Regions from separate parts of the Homo sapiens genome. Here regions 1 and 3 are each linked to region 2. The links are contacts of gene promoters, found by promoter capture Hi-C in blood cells and fetal thymus (Javierre and others, 2016). All regions are on one chromosome and are shown on one strand. The core of a region is centred on a gene start or on the middle of the fragment in contact, and the rest is flanking DNA. Distances in the headings are between cores, read along the strand shown. Region 1 has its middle 14 kb from the start of MIR30D. Region 2 holds the start of TMEM71 (transmembrane protein 71). Region 3 holds the start of NCRNA00250 (non-protein coding RNA 250).

The links. The method cuts DNA at HindIII sites, captures the fragments that hold promoters and counts their contacts. A CHiCAGO score of 5 or more calls a contact.
Region 1: a fragment that was not itself captured here is called in contact with the fragment with the promoter of TMEM71 in region 2 in 1 of 17 cell types (total B cells); the score reaches 5.8 in total B cells.
Region 3: a contact is called between a fragment that was not itself captured here and the fragment with the promoter of TMEM71 in region 2, in 2 of 17 cell types (non-activated CD4 T cells and monocytes). The highest score is 6.4, in non-activated CD4 T cells.

Annotation. Positions count from the first base shown.
Region 1 is chr8:134,816,744-134,820,748 of GRCh38, forward strand. It overlaps a transcript of ZFAT not described here. Among named protein-coding and RNA genes, the nearest start is that of MIR30D, 14 kb to the left of the region's middle. The HindIII fragment of the contact is 1,441 bases long and covers 1,915-3,355 here.
Region 2 is chr8:132,759,172-132,763,339 of GRCh38, forward strand. TMEM71 (transmembrane protein 71) reads right to left here and starts at 1,411. Exons shown (of 10, transcript NM_001382403.1): 1 at 1,305-1,411. The HindIII fragment of the contact is 4,740 bases long and covers 1,193-4,168 here.
Region 3 is chr8:134,835,182-134,838,801 of GRCh38, forward strand. It overlaps NCRNA00250 (non-protein coding RNA 250), which reads left to right and starts at 2,888. Exons shown (of 3, transcript NR_126028.1): 1 at 2,888-3,128. The HindIII fragment of the contact is 1,553 bases long and covers 1,534-3,086 here.

The DNA.
Region 1 (4,005 bases), core at 1,385-3,884, 2.1 Mb after region 2:
AGGCCAAAGTGGGTGGATCAGGAGGTCAGGAGTTCGAGACCAGCCTGGCCAATATGGTGGAACCCAGTCTCTACCAAAAATACAAAAATTAACTGGGCATGGTGGTGCATGCCTATAATCCCAGCTACTCAGAAGGCCGAGGCAGGAGAATGGCTTGAACCCGGGAGGCGGAGGTTGCAGTGAGCAGAGATCATGCCACCGCACTCCTGCCTGGGTGACAGAGTAAGACTCCATCTCAAAAAAAAAAAAAAAAAGTATACCATTTACAAAAGTATTTTAAAATATGAAATATTCAGGGATTGCAATGATATTAATAGTTAATTTAATGTGTCAACTTGGCTAGGCTATGCTGCCCAGTTGATCAAACACTAGTCTAGCTATTGCTATTCTGTAGATGTGATTAACGATAACAATCAGTTGACATTAAGAAAAAGAGCTCTCCTCCATAACATGGGTGGGCCTCATCCAATCAAATGAGGCCTTCAGAGCAAAACCAGATAACCTAAGGAAGAAGGAATTCTATCTCAAGACTGTAAGAGAAATCCTGCCTAAGGTTCCATCCTGCCTGCCAATTCTATGAATTTTGGACTTGCCACCCACCACAATCACGAGCCAATTTCTTAAAATCAATCTCTCTGTCTCTCTCTCTCTACACACACACACACACACACACACACACACACACACACACACAACGCACCCTTATTGATTGTTTCTCTGCAGAACCCAACTTACAGAGGCATATACGAGACCAAAATATAAAAGACTTGCATCCTATAAACTACCAAACATTACTGAGAGAAATTAATGAAGCCCTAAACCAAGTGCTATACCATGTTCATGGGTCAGAAGACTCAATAATTTTAAAATGTCAATTCTTTCCAAATTGACCTACAGATTCACTGCAATTCCAATCAAAACGTCAAGCAAGCTTTTTAAAAAAACTGACACTTATTCTAAAATTCATAAGGAAATGTAAAATACCTAGACTAGCAAAAATAACTTTGAAAAAAAGAAAATTGGAAGACTACATGATTTCAACACTGAATAATCAACGCAGTGCAGCACTGGTGTCAAGATCAACAAATACCTCAATGGAACAAAATCGAGTCCAAAATAGAACTACTACATATATAAAGTCAACTGATTATTCACAGGGGGAAAAGGGAATTCAATAGAAAAAGGATAAATTTTCAACAAATGGTGTCTTAAGAACATCCAGATAGAAAAGTTTTCTATACTCAAAACTTAACTCAAAATGGATCACTATATTTAGATAGAAAACCTAAAACTACAGGGAGAAAGCACAGGAGAAAACCTTTGTTGACCTTGAATTACGCAAAAAAAACATTTTTAGATACAGTACCAAAAGTACAATCCATAAAAGAACTGATAAATTAGATATCAAAATTAAAACCTTTGCCCTTCAAAAGACATTGTTAAGAGAATGAAGAGACAAACCATAGACTGGAAAAATATTTGCAAATCATAAATCTGATAAAGGATTTATACATAAGAACCCTCAGAATGCAGTAAGAAAACAACCAACCAGATTTTTTTAACGGGTAAAAGATTTGAACAGATGCTTCCCAAAAGAGAAAGGGATGGCAAATAAACATATGCAAGGATGCTAACCATCAGCAGTCATTAGAGAAATGCAAATTAAAACCACCACTACTCACTAATTAGAATGGCAATAATTAAAAAGACTGACTGCACCAAATGATAGCATAATGCTGGTGGGAATGTAAAATGGTACTGCCACTTTGGAAAACCACTGGCAGTTTAAGAAGAAACTAGGTAGGTATAGAACATATAGCTACCATATGATTCAGTCATTCTACTCCTAGGTGTATGCCCAGAGAAATGAAAAGTTTATGTCCATACAAAGACATGTACATACATATTCATAGAAGCTTTACTTTAAAAGTCAAACACTGGAATCAACCCAAATAGATTATCAAAAGGTGAATGGATACACAAAATGTGGTATATCCATACAATGGAATACTACTTACCAATAAGAAAGAGTAACTATTGGTGCATGGTACAACACGGATGAATCTCCAAATAATGCTGGGTGAAAGTAGCCAGACAAAAGGAGTGCATATTGTATTCTAAGACATGCATGCCAATGTAAAGTAAAAGAAAACAGATAATGGTTGCCTAGAGAATGCAGGGGAGGGTTATCAAGGGACATCAGAAAACTTTTGGGGGTATATGTTTAGTGTCTTGACTGTGGTGATGGTCTCATGGATAAACACGTCAAAACTTAACAAACTGCACATTGTAATATATGCCATTTATTGTATAACAACTATATGTCAATAAAATTGTTTCAATAAAAATAGAGACTTGCCGAAAGTGTTAAGGACAATAAAAAGACTTAAATACATTCTCAACAACAACAAACAAAAGCCAGGTTACTTACTTGCAATAAAACTGCTAACAGATAACCTACATAATTGTTTTACTCCTGCCTTGAATCGGTCTGGGAGTGGGAAGGGGAAGAGGAAGGGGGTGAAGGAAAAAAAAAAGGAAAAAAAAGAATGATCTTTTAATCTGTGAAGGATACGGATTAAAAGAAAAATCAAAGTCCAAGATAGGAAGGAGACAGCAAAAGAAAAGTAATCACTTTTAATTCATGTTTATAGGTCAAGAAAAATATTATCCCAAGACATTAAATGTATCTGCAGATTTGGTAATTTCCAAGGAATCACAATGAAACGCCATGAGAACTGCCGGATTTACCACCCCCCCCCCCCGCCCCCCAACACACCACAAAAGCTCTGATTAATAAGGAACTGGTTTCTCTGACATTACATTTGCTCCCGCTCCTCCAATATTCTAATTAACTACACCTTCTCTGACTTCTTTCTGGGCTCCTATTCCACTTGTCCCTTAAATATTGGTGCTCTTCAGATCCTTGTTCTACTTCTAGTCTCACTCTTCAACAGGGTTTACAACCTTCCAGGGGAGTTTTTGATTTCCTTTGATAATATGATGAAAGCTAGGGACCAGAACAATGTATATTTACATAAAATTTTACATGTAATTATTTCAAAGGTTTCAAAACTCTTCTGAACCTTGGCCATGTATGTATTCCTTAGCTTCTCACGGGGGGAAGAAAAAAAAAAAGATTCCTTTTGGAATCCCAGCCAAGGTTTTGTTTCTTTAAAATCCCATGCAGAGTGAGAAGCACACATAGACATGACAATGGGAAATTTAAATGCTCACAAATAAAATTCACATAGAATCTAGGACATCATGATATCTTTCTGGATAATAGAGAAACAGTTTAACTGGGTATATTCTTAGCTTGCTATTAAATGCTGATTAATAGATTTATGAAGGAAGCTTATAATCACAATTCTGTAGAAGTTCATCCTCTTAAATGTTTGTTTTAAAAAAGGTGATTTGAATGAGGGCATAGAAAATATGCCTATCAAATTTTGGACAATAAGAGGTTGTGACAGTGAGTAGTGGATCACAAACCCAGGGTTTAAAACATATTGACTGATTCAGCCTAGGGATGAGATGGAGGTCAGGAAAGATCCTCAACTTCAAAGATCCTTATGTAATATTACTCTCCTTTTCCTCAACTCCCAATAACCTGTGGAAATGTAATACATCTACCAAGACTGTAAGCTCCTTTAGGACAATGCCCAAGTCTTATCATCATCATACAGCACCTTGAGTGATGCCAGTATCATCGCTTGAACTATATTCTGCTATGGTAACAAATGTCCAAAATCATGGTGCCTTACAGCACAGTATTTATCTCACACTTATATGCTTATCACAGATTGGCTTCAGCTCTGCTCCATTATTCTGGGACCAGCCATAGCTAAGTCATGCTGGTTCCATGACAGAGGGTCAAGGGCCACTGGCAGAACCACAGGATGAAAAATATCTGCTCAAACATGGGACATGTCACTTTAACATTTTATTGGTCAAGGAAAGCCAAATGGTCAAACCTGATGTCAACAGAATAAGAAGTATAAT
Region 2 (4,168 bases), core at 161-2,660:
TGGAAAATCTAGACTTAAAAAGGTTGATTTGTAATCCAAAGAAAATAATGAAAGTGAGGTATTTGATTAAGAAATCTTAATAAAATGACTGGTTCTAACAGTCATTTAGCCCCAAAACAAACTTACGTGTATTTTAATCATCTGACACAAGTCAACTTCATTATCAAGTTTCAAACAGTGCTTGGAGATTGGTGTCTGTCTTTTTCCCAACAACTTGAACCATTGACAGGTAGTCACAGAGAGTGATTTTAATAGTTTTTATCAGCCTGGACATTCCTAAACAGCATAAGTAATGTTGCACTAAAGATAGCATACCATTGGGAAGATTTTAGAACTTAGTTCCCATGAAGACATGATTTAATTTCTCAATTACTAATTAAAAACATATCAAAGTATGTAAATTATGCAAACTTTGATCATTTACTGTTCATCAAATAGAACCAACTTCTGTTGACTATGAAACTTTGTATATAGTATCACTATCCTAATCGCTTTATAAGGTAGGAGTAAATTATTTTCTGATTCACCACTTATGGCCACATTTTGTAACATGAGAACTAGTAATGGATTGTTTTTGTAGCTGTAATTCAATCAATCAAACCAGGCTAATTCTACAGCTTCAAGTTGAATATTTCAATAAATTATATATAAACCCTATTAGGAAAATATAAACCTGGTTTATAGAGACCTGTAAAGATGTCAGGAGAACTTTCTGGCCTTCCTTGGAAGATTTCTAAATCAAAGCACACATTTACAAATTTCATTTGTTTGGGATATAAAATAATCCCAGTGTAATGTAATATATTAGTATGTTACTTGTTCTTTTCATTTTTGATCAATATTGTACGGGTATGCCCAGCCCAAATTACCTTATTTTAGTGTTCCCCAAGTATTAAGCTTAATTTTAAGCCTATAAATCCTGCAGCAAAAGAAGGTCTTATTGCTCTATCTCACAAGTGCTTAGAAGAATCTACAGGCAGTACACTGACATTCAATAGAAAATTAGTAACAGTAGGAAAAAAAAAAGCCCTTCAGTTACAGATCTAAAACTTTTCAAGAAACAGAATCTGCCAGTTCCATCAAAGCGACACATCTATTCTGAAAAATAATGTGTGCATACGTGTTCCTTCCAAAGGGAGTTCCCAGCCTCTTCTTCCAATTGACAAAGGACAAAATTATTACTGAAATACGAAGCTTCCTGTGGTTGACAGTGGAAAAATTGAGGACTGAGCAGTTCCTCGGCTGAAAAATGTCTGAATGTCAACAGGTGCAGAAGTCTCTTAATAAAGGGAATCCCACCCTACCTTCTTCTCACAGATGCCCACGCACATTGCTGTGCACAGGTGCTTGCAGAGAAGTTTTGTCTTCGGCAGCCTCTTGTTCTCTTGTCTGTTTCCTGGTATAAATGAGTGTATAGTTCTTGGGAAAGTCAGTCTTACAACTTCTCTTGTTTTCTTTTGAAAACAGCCTGCGTAACCAGAGGCAAAGAAGCAGAATGAGGTCACACTTCCTGTTGGGCTCACATCAGTGGCATTCACACTGAGGAGTGTGCTGAAGATTTCAGAGAGTTTCCTGGGCCAGCAGCAGGGAATGTGCAGCCCATGTGTCAGGCCAGCTGGTTACACCCTGGTCACTGGAGGGGTGGTTTTCTGAGCTAACTTGTCACCTTTGGCTGCGAGAACGTGAGAAAGACTCAGCGAACTGACATTTCTTGCTCATCATATGGCCACATTCAGTTATAAGTAGTGCAGAGTAGTGATCTTTGTCCAAATCACTTAAATTTATTGAGGATAATGCACTGATGCTATTAAATTCAGAATACTATTAAATAGCAAGAGCTTGATCTTATGAAAATTTCTATAGAGGCAATAGGTTTATCTAATGAAGGTTGGACTTCACAAAAAACTCTATAGATGGCATTTTACATTTACATTATAGTAGAGCTCAAAGACTTGATGGTGTTTATGGGTTCATACACATCTGTACTACTGTAAGTGATAAAAGAAATGTACATTCAAATATATATTCCAGCAACATTGAGGTACCACTGCATAGTGGAAAGAGTGCGGATTCTGGGGTCACAAGACAGAAATTCAACCTGTCTACCATCCTAGCTGTGTGACCTCAGATTTGTGACTTACCCCTCTGAGTTGCAGTTTTCTCAATTATAAACATAAAAATATATATGTCATATGATGGCTTGAAGAATTAAATGAAATAAAAGAAATGAGAAATAATCGAGTCCTCAGCACAGATGTGCAAGGTGTATTCTTTATTTGTTTTCTTAAATCAAGTTCTCTTCTGAGGCACCAGTTGGTCCGGCTGGCGGAAAAGTTAATCTCATCCTTTCCTGGGGTTCCCTTTCCCCCTGAGGTTCTGCCACATGGCAGGATCTTCTGTAGAACATGTTCTAGGCAGCAGGAACTGTCAGGAGGAGGGCCCATCTAATTTCAAAGTTCTCTGTCTCTGGAACTTCATGTCTATTCTCCATCCCTTGAGTGTAGACTGAGGCTGCTGACATGCTCCTTGTAAATAAAGTAAGGCAAAGGTGCTGAGTTTCCACTACCATGATGAGGCTTCCATCTTGTTGGACTCTATTACTTTCTTGCTTGCCTGCTTTGATGAAGCAAGCTGCCATGGTGGAGAAGCCCATGTGTCAAGGAATCAAGAGTGGTCTCAAAAGCCAGTAAGGGTCTGATGCTCCATCCAACAGCCAGGAATCCAGCCAAAAACCAAGTGTGTGAGCTTGGAAGTGGATCCTTCTCCAGTTGAGCCTTGAGCTGACTGCAGCCCCATCTAATGCTCGATTGGAACTGGGAAAGACCCAGAAGCAGACAACCCAGGCTAGCCCTGCCCAGCTCCCTGGCCCACGCAAACTGGGAAGTGACAAATGGTATTTCAAGCCACCACGTTTTGAGGTAATTTGTTACACAGCAACACATAGCAGATGCATAGTCCTAACACAGGTCACTTCCTGAGCCATCTGTCATTGCTGACTCTCTGCTGCTTTAGTGACTCCTGTAGAATATAGTCACATTTACTCAAGGCTACTCCTGGTCACATCTGCCTAAATTTAACAGACAGCTATTCTGCTTCACAGCTGTCTGGTATTCTCTTTACTGGAATTCACAGTTCTCTTCTTCTCCTTTTCCTGTTTTTCTTATCCCTCATCCTCCCTCTTCCAGCCTTGGCTTATCTCTTCTAGATGAGGGAGGAAAATCTTTCTGACTTATTCGAGACCCTCTGCTCTTCCTGTGCCCACAAATCCACTTTTCCGAAGAGCTCACATCAGAAAGACTTTGGTCTACTTTTTTTTTTTTTAAAGATCTGGCACATATTAGAACCTTATTATTAATGATCATAATAATTGCTAACTTTAAGGAGTGCTTACTATGTACCAGGCACTGTTCTAAGGTCTTTCCACATATCAACACATTAATTGTTACATCAATTCCATGGGAGATGCTGTATTATTATTCTCATTTTACAGAAGAGCAAACTGAGTTTAGAGAGTTGCCCAAATTCACATAGCCAGTACGTGATGAGTAAGTAGAGCTAGGATTCAAACCCTGATGAGATGGCTCTCGAGTTTGCTTTCTTAACCTATAAGTGTAATGATCATATCCAACGTGTGTCAGCATTTTCTACAAACCAGGCACTGCACTAAACACTGTACATATGTAATCTTGTTTCAACCTCACGTAGCCCTAGAAAATAAGTGCAATTGTTATCCACATGCAGGACAGAGGTTTATAGAGTTTGCATAAATCTTTCAAAATTGCCAATGGCCAGAACTAAATTCCAAACCTATGGTTCCCCTCTCAATCTTCTCTCTTGAGACCCACTCATCTTCTTCTTGTTTCTCATACACTAGACACGGGTCTACTTCAAGATCTTTGAGGTTAGTGTTCCCTCACCCTAAGGGTCACAGGGCTTTCTTCCTCCCCTCCCTCAGCTCTTTTCTCCACTGCCTTGCTACTAATTAATTGCCCTCCACACCACTCCCTAGTCTCTTCCTGCTTTATTCTTCTCCTTAGCACTTTTTACCAAGGAATATGTCACACAATTCATTCCTTGTAATAAGAAACGTACTCCTCAGCCAGAACATGAGCATTAAAAGAGCAGAGAATATTGTCATTTTGCTTCATTTTAATAGCCCAAGTATCAA
Region 3 (3,620 bases), core at 1,060-3,559, 2.1 Mb after region 2:
ATTAAAAAAAATGCCACTGTGTGTGTGTGTTTAAGTACCTTATTACTAAGAGAGAAAGAACATTCAGTTCCCATTTTAGGGGCTCTCCTGCTCCAGGATTACTGAGGGTCCTCTGGAGTGTGCATGGGCTCAGGTGAGGTTATAAGCACATCCTTGACAGGAGGGTGCTTCTATCAGGGAAGGCCAATATCTTTCCGAGAACGTAAGCTTGTGGGAGGAGGTGGTAAACGAGGAAGCAGTGGGGACATGAAGTGAGAACGCAGTACTCAGCCAGACCAGCTCAATCAGTCCTGGTGATGAACAAGGTGAATCAGCTGCACTACCCTTACGGCCTGTTAGGACTGATGTATTCAAATTAGGCAGCTGCATGCACAGTATGCACTGCACAAACCCAGGGAAGCTATTTGCATGGGAGTCTGTGAATGGCATCCTCTGGGACTGTGCAGTGCTCAACCTCTATGAACATATGTAGCAGTCCTGAGTGACATGTACATGGCATGTCTCTGTCTACTTTGGCAATCTAAATTATCCTGATGATATCTTCGATAATAGAAATAAACATTTGTGGGATATCTACCAATTGTCATCTCAAAAACTTATTTTAATGTACAAATTTTATATCTAAAGATTTGCGCATGTTTCAAAATGCTTATTAGACTGATGTCATTACCATTCATTTATTCTAAAAAATGACAATTGAGCTGCTAAGTTTCAGGCATGATTCAAAAGCCTGGTTCTATAAATGTATTGAGCACCAACTACAAATCTTAGAAACACCATTAACTGATTTCTTTAAAATATCAGCTTATGTTTATGTTTTTTTCAGTTTATGCCATTTTATAATATGAAGATGTCCTCTATATCCTCTTTTTTAGAGATGGAATCTGGCTCTGTTGCCCAGGCTGGAGTGTAGTGGCACGATCTCGGCTCACTGCCACCTCCACCTCCAGGGTTCAAGCACTTCTCCTACCTCAGCCTCCTGAGTAGCTGGGATTACAGGTGCCTGCCACCATGTCTGGTTAATTTTGTATTTTTAGTAGAGATGGGGTTTCACCATGTTGGCCATGCTGGTCTCGAACTCTTGACCTCAAGTGATTTGCCTGCCTCAGCCTCCCAAAGTGCTGGTATTACAGGCATGACCCACCGTGCCTGGCCTCTAAATCCTCTTTATTTCATAGACAATCATCTATTAAAATCTGGAGATGAAATGTTCTTTCATTTCAGACAATTCAATATAGTAGGATGCCTCAGTGAATATAAAGCTTTTACATAATTTTTTTCCTCCTGGCGTTATCAGAAGAGGTAACAGAAAGTTAAGTTGGCTTTGTTAGGAGTCTCCTGGGAGCCCTAGGGAAAGCTACCTTAGTAGAGTGGGTGCAAGACCCCACTGGCCAGAAAAGAGTATAATTATGCTTTGAGCCCTGGATCATTCTGTAGAGGAAAGCTGCCCTCCAACCAGAAACATCTAATTTAGATGGTTATATGAGCGAGAAATAACTGAAAATTTGTTTGTTTGTTGTTGTTATAGCAGCAAGCTTTACTCAATGAATTAATTGGAAAAGTAAATAATATGACCATATTTGCACCCCAAATTTGTGGAGCTGCTCATACTAACAATTTTAAATTCTTTTTTTTCAATAGCTTTTAGGATACAAGTCATTTTTGGCTACATGGATGAGTTATATAGTGATGAATTCTGAGATTTCAGTGCTCCCATCACCCAAGTAGTGTACATTGTACCTAATGTGTAGTGTTTTTATCCCTGGCTCCCCACTCCCACCCTCTTGCTTCTGAGTCCATTATATATAAATGATATAAAGTGATATAAAGTCCATTATGTCACTCTGTATGCCTTTGCATATTCTAATAATGTTAAACTCTTAATTTCTGAACATGCAATTAAGTGAGCCTCTGCCTCTAGTAGTCTTTACAGTTGACCCTTGAACCACCCGGTTTGAACTTCGTTGAGCTGCTATACTTGGATTTTCTTCTGCCTCTGCCATTGCTGACAGTACAACCAACCTCTCCTCTTTCTCCTCTTCCTCATCCTACTCAACATGAAGATGATGAGGATGGAGAGCTTTATGATGATCCACTTCCACTTAATGAAGAGGAAATATATTTTCTCTTCCTTACGATTTTTTCATTAATGTTATTTTCTCTGGCTTACTTTATTATAAGAACACAGTATATAATACATATAACAAAATATGGGTTAATCGACTGTTTATGTTATCAGTAAGGCTTCTGGTTAACAGTAGGCTACTAATGGTTATGTTTTTGGGGATTCAAAAGTTATGCTTGGGAGTTTTGACTGCGCATACAGGGGTTGTTCCCCTAGTTCAAAGGTCAGCTGTATTACATGGCTTCCAGGTCTTTGATGGCTGTGCTATGCATGAGTGTCACTGCTGGAAAACTGTTATGTGCAGTTCCAGAAGCTGACATACTTAGTTAAAAAAAAAAAGGGTTGGGGGGGGCTACTCAGGAGGAATCAATACACACATACATATGTTGAATCACACAGACACTCACGTACTCACATACACACACACACACACACACGTACTCACACATGCTACACAATAGTAGGATGCAGAGTTCCATCATTTGAAACTCTGGAAAAACTTTCACCATTTTTACTATTATTACCAGCATCAACATCTTTCTCGCCATTGTAAGTCAAGACATTGGAAAAAGTCTGAAACAATAATCTTGACTATTCACAGTAACTCCGGAACAATGAAGGAGGAAGAATGAATGAGTTGCGCCCTGAAGATGGTGGGCTCTCCTTTATGCATGATCATCACGATCTCTCTGCAATGTCTGTCCTGTGACCTCGTGAGGTGTGCAGCGTCATGCCAGACATCTGTGTTTGGATGGCCCTCTGGCTCCTCCACAATTACTGCAGAGTCAGAAGTGGAATTTCCGCCTGATGTTTTATGTCAAAATCAGTATGAAAGACTGCAGCATGCTGAGTGAGCTTTCCGTTCTCGCTGAGATGCAATGCAGGGTCCACCCTCTGCAGGCCACAATTTTGCCTGGAGGCAAAGCATTCAGTCTTTCCATTGGCCTGACAATTTGAGCCAAGCTTTGAGGCCAACAGACAAAATGCACTAGCAACTGGAGAGGTGAGTTTTGTTAAATTACAATAACATCCATGCATCCAGGGGAGCTGCAAAAGTCATTCCTGTTCCTGTCAGATGCACTCAAAATCAACAGCCAAATTATTCCTGCCAAATGCTCTGAGGCTATTGAATAGAGTCTTGCACTATTTTAAATAGTAACTTAAAACCTCTAGTTTCATGGCTCAGTAATAATCATGATAATTCTAATCAGTATCCTCATTAGTGAATGCTAATAACTGTTTATTGAGTGGCCACCATGTGCAAGTGCTTTGCTAGATACTTTATGTATGCCAGATATTTAAGCTTCGTAATCGCTTTGTAAGGTGGATGTTATTATCCTGTCCTATCGCTGGAGAAACAAATTCAGGACACGTAAGCAACTTGCCCAGTGTTACCACCCACAGAGATGACGTCAGTGTACTTAAAGAATACATGGGCTAGGCACGGTAGCTCACGCCTGTAATCCCAGCACTTTGGGAGGCCCAGGCAGGAGGA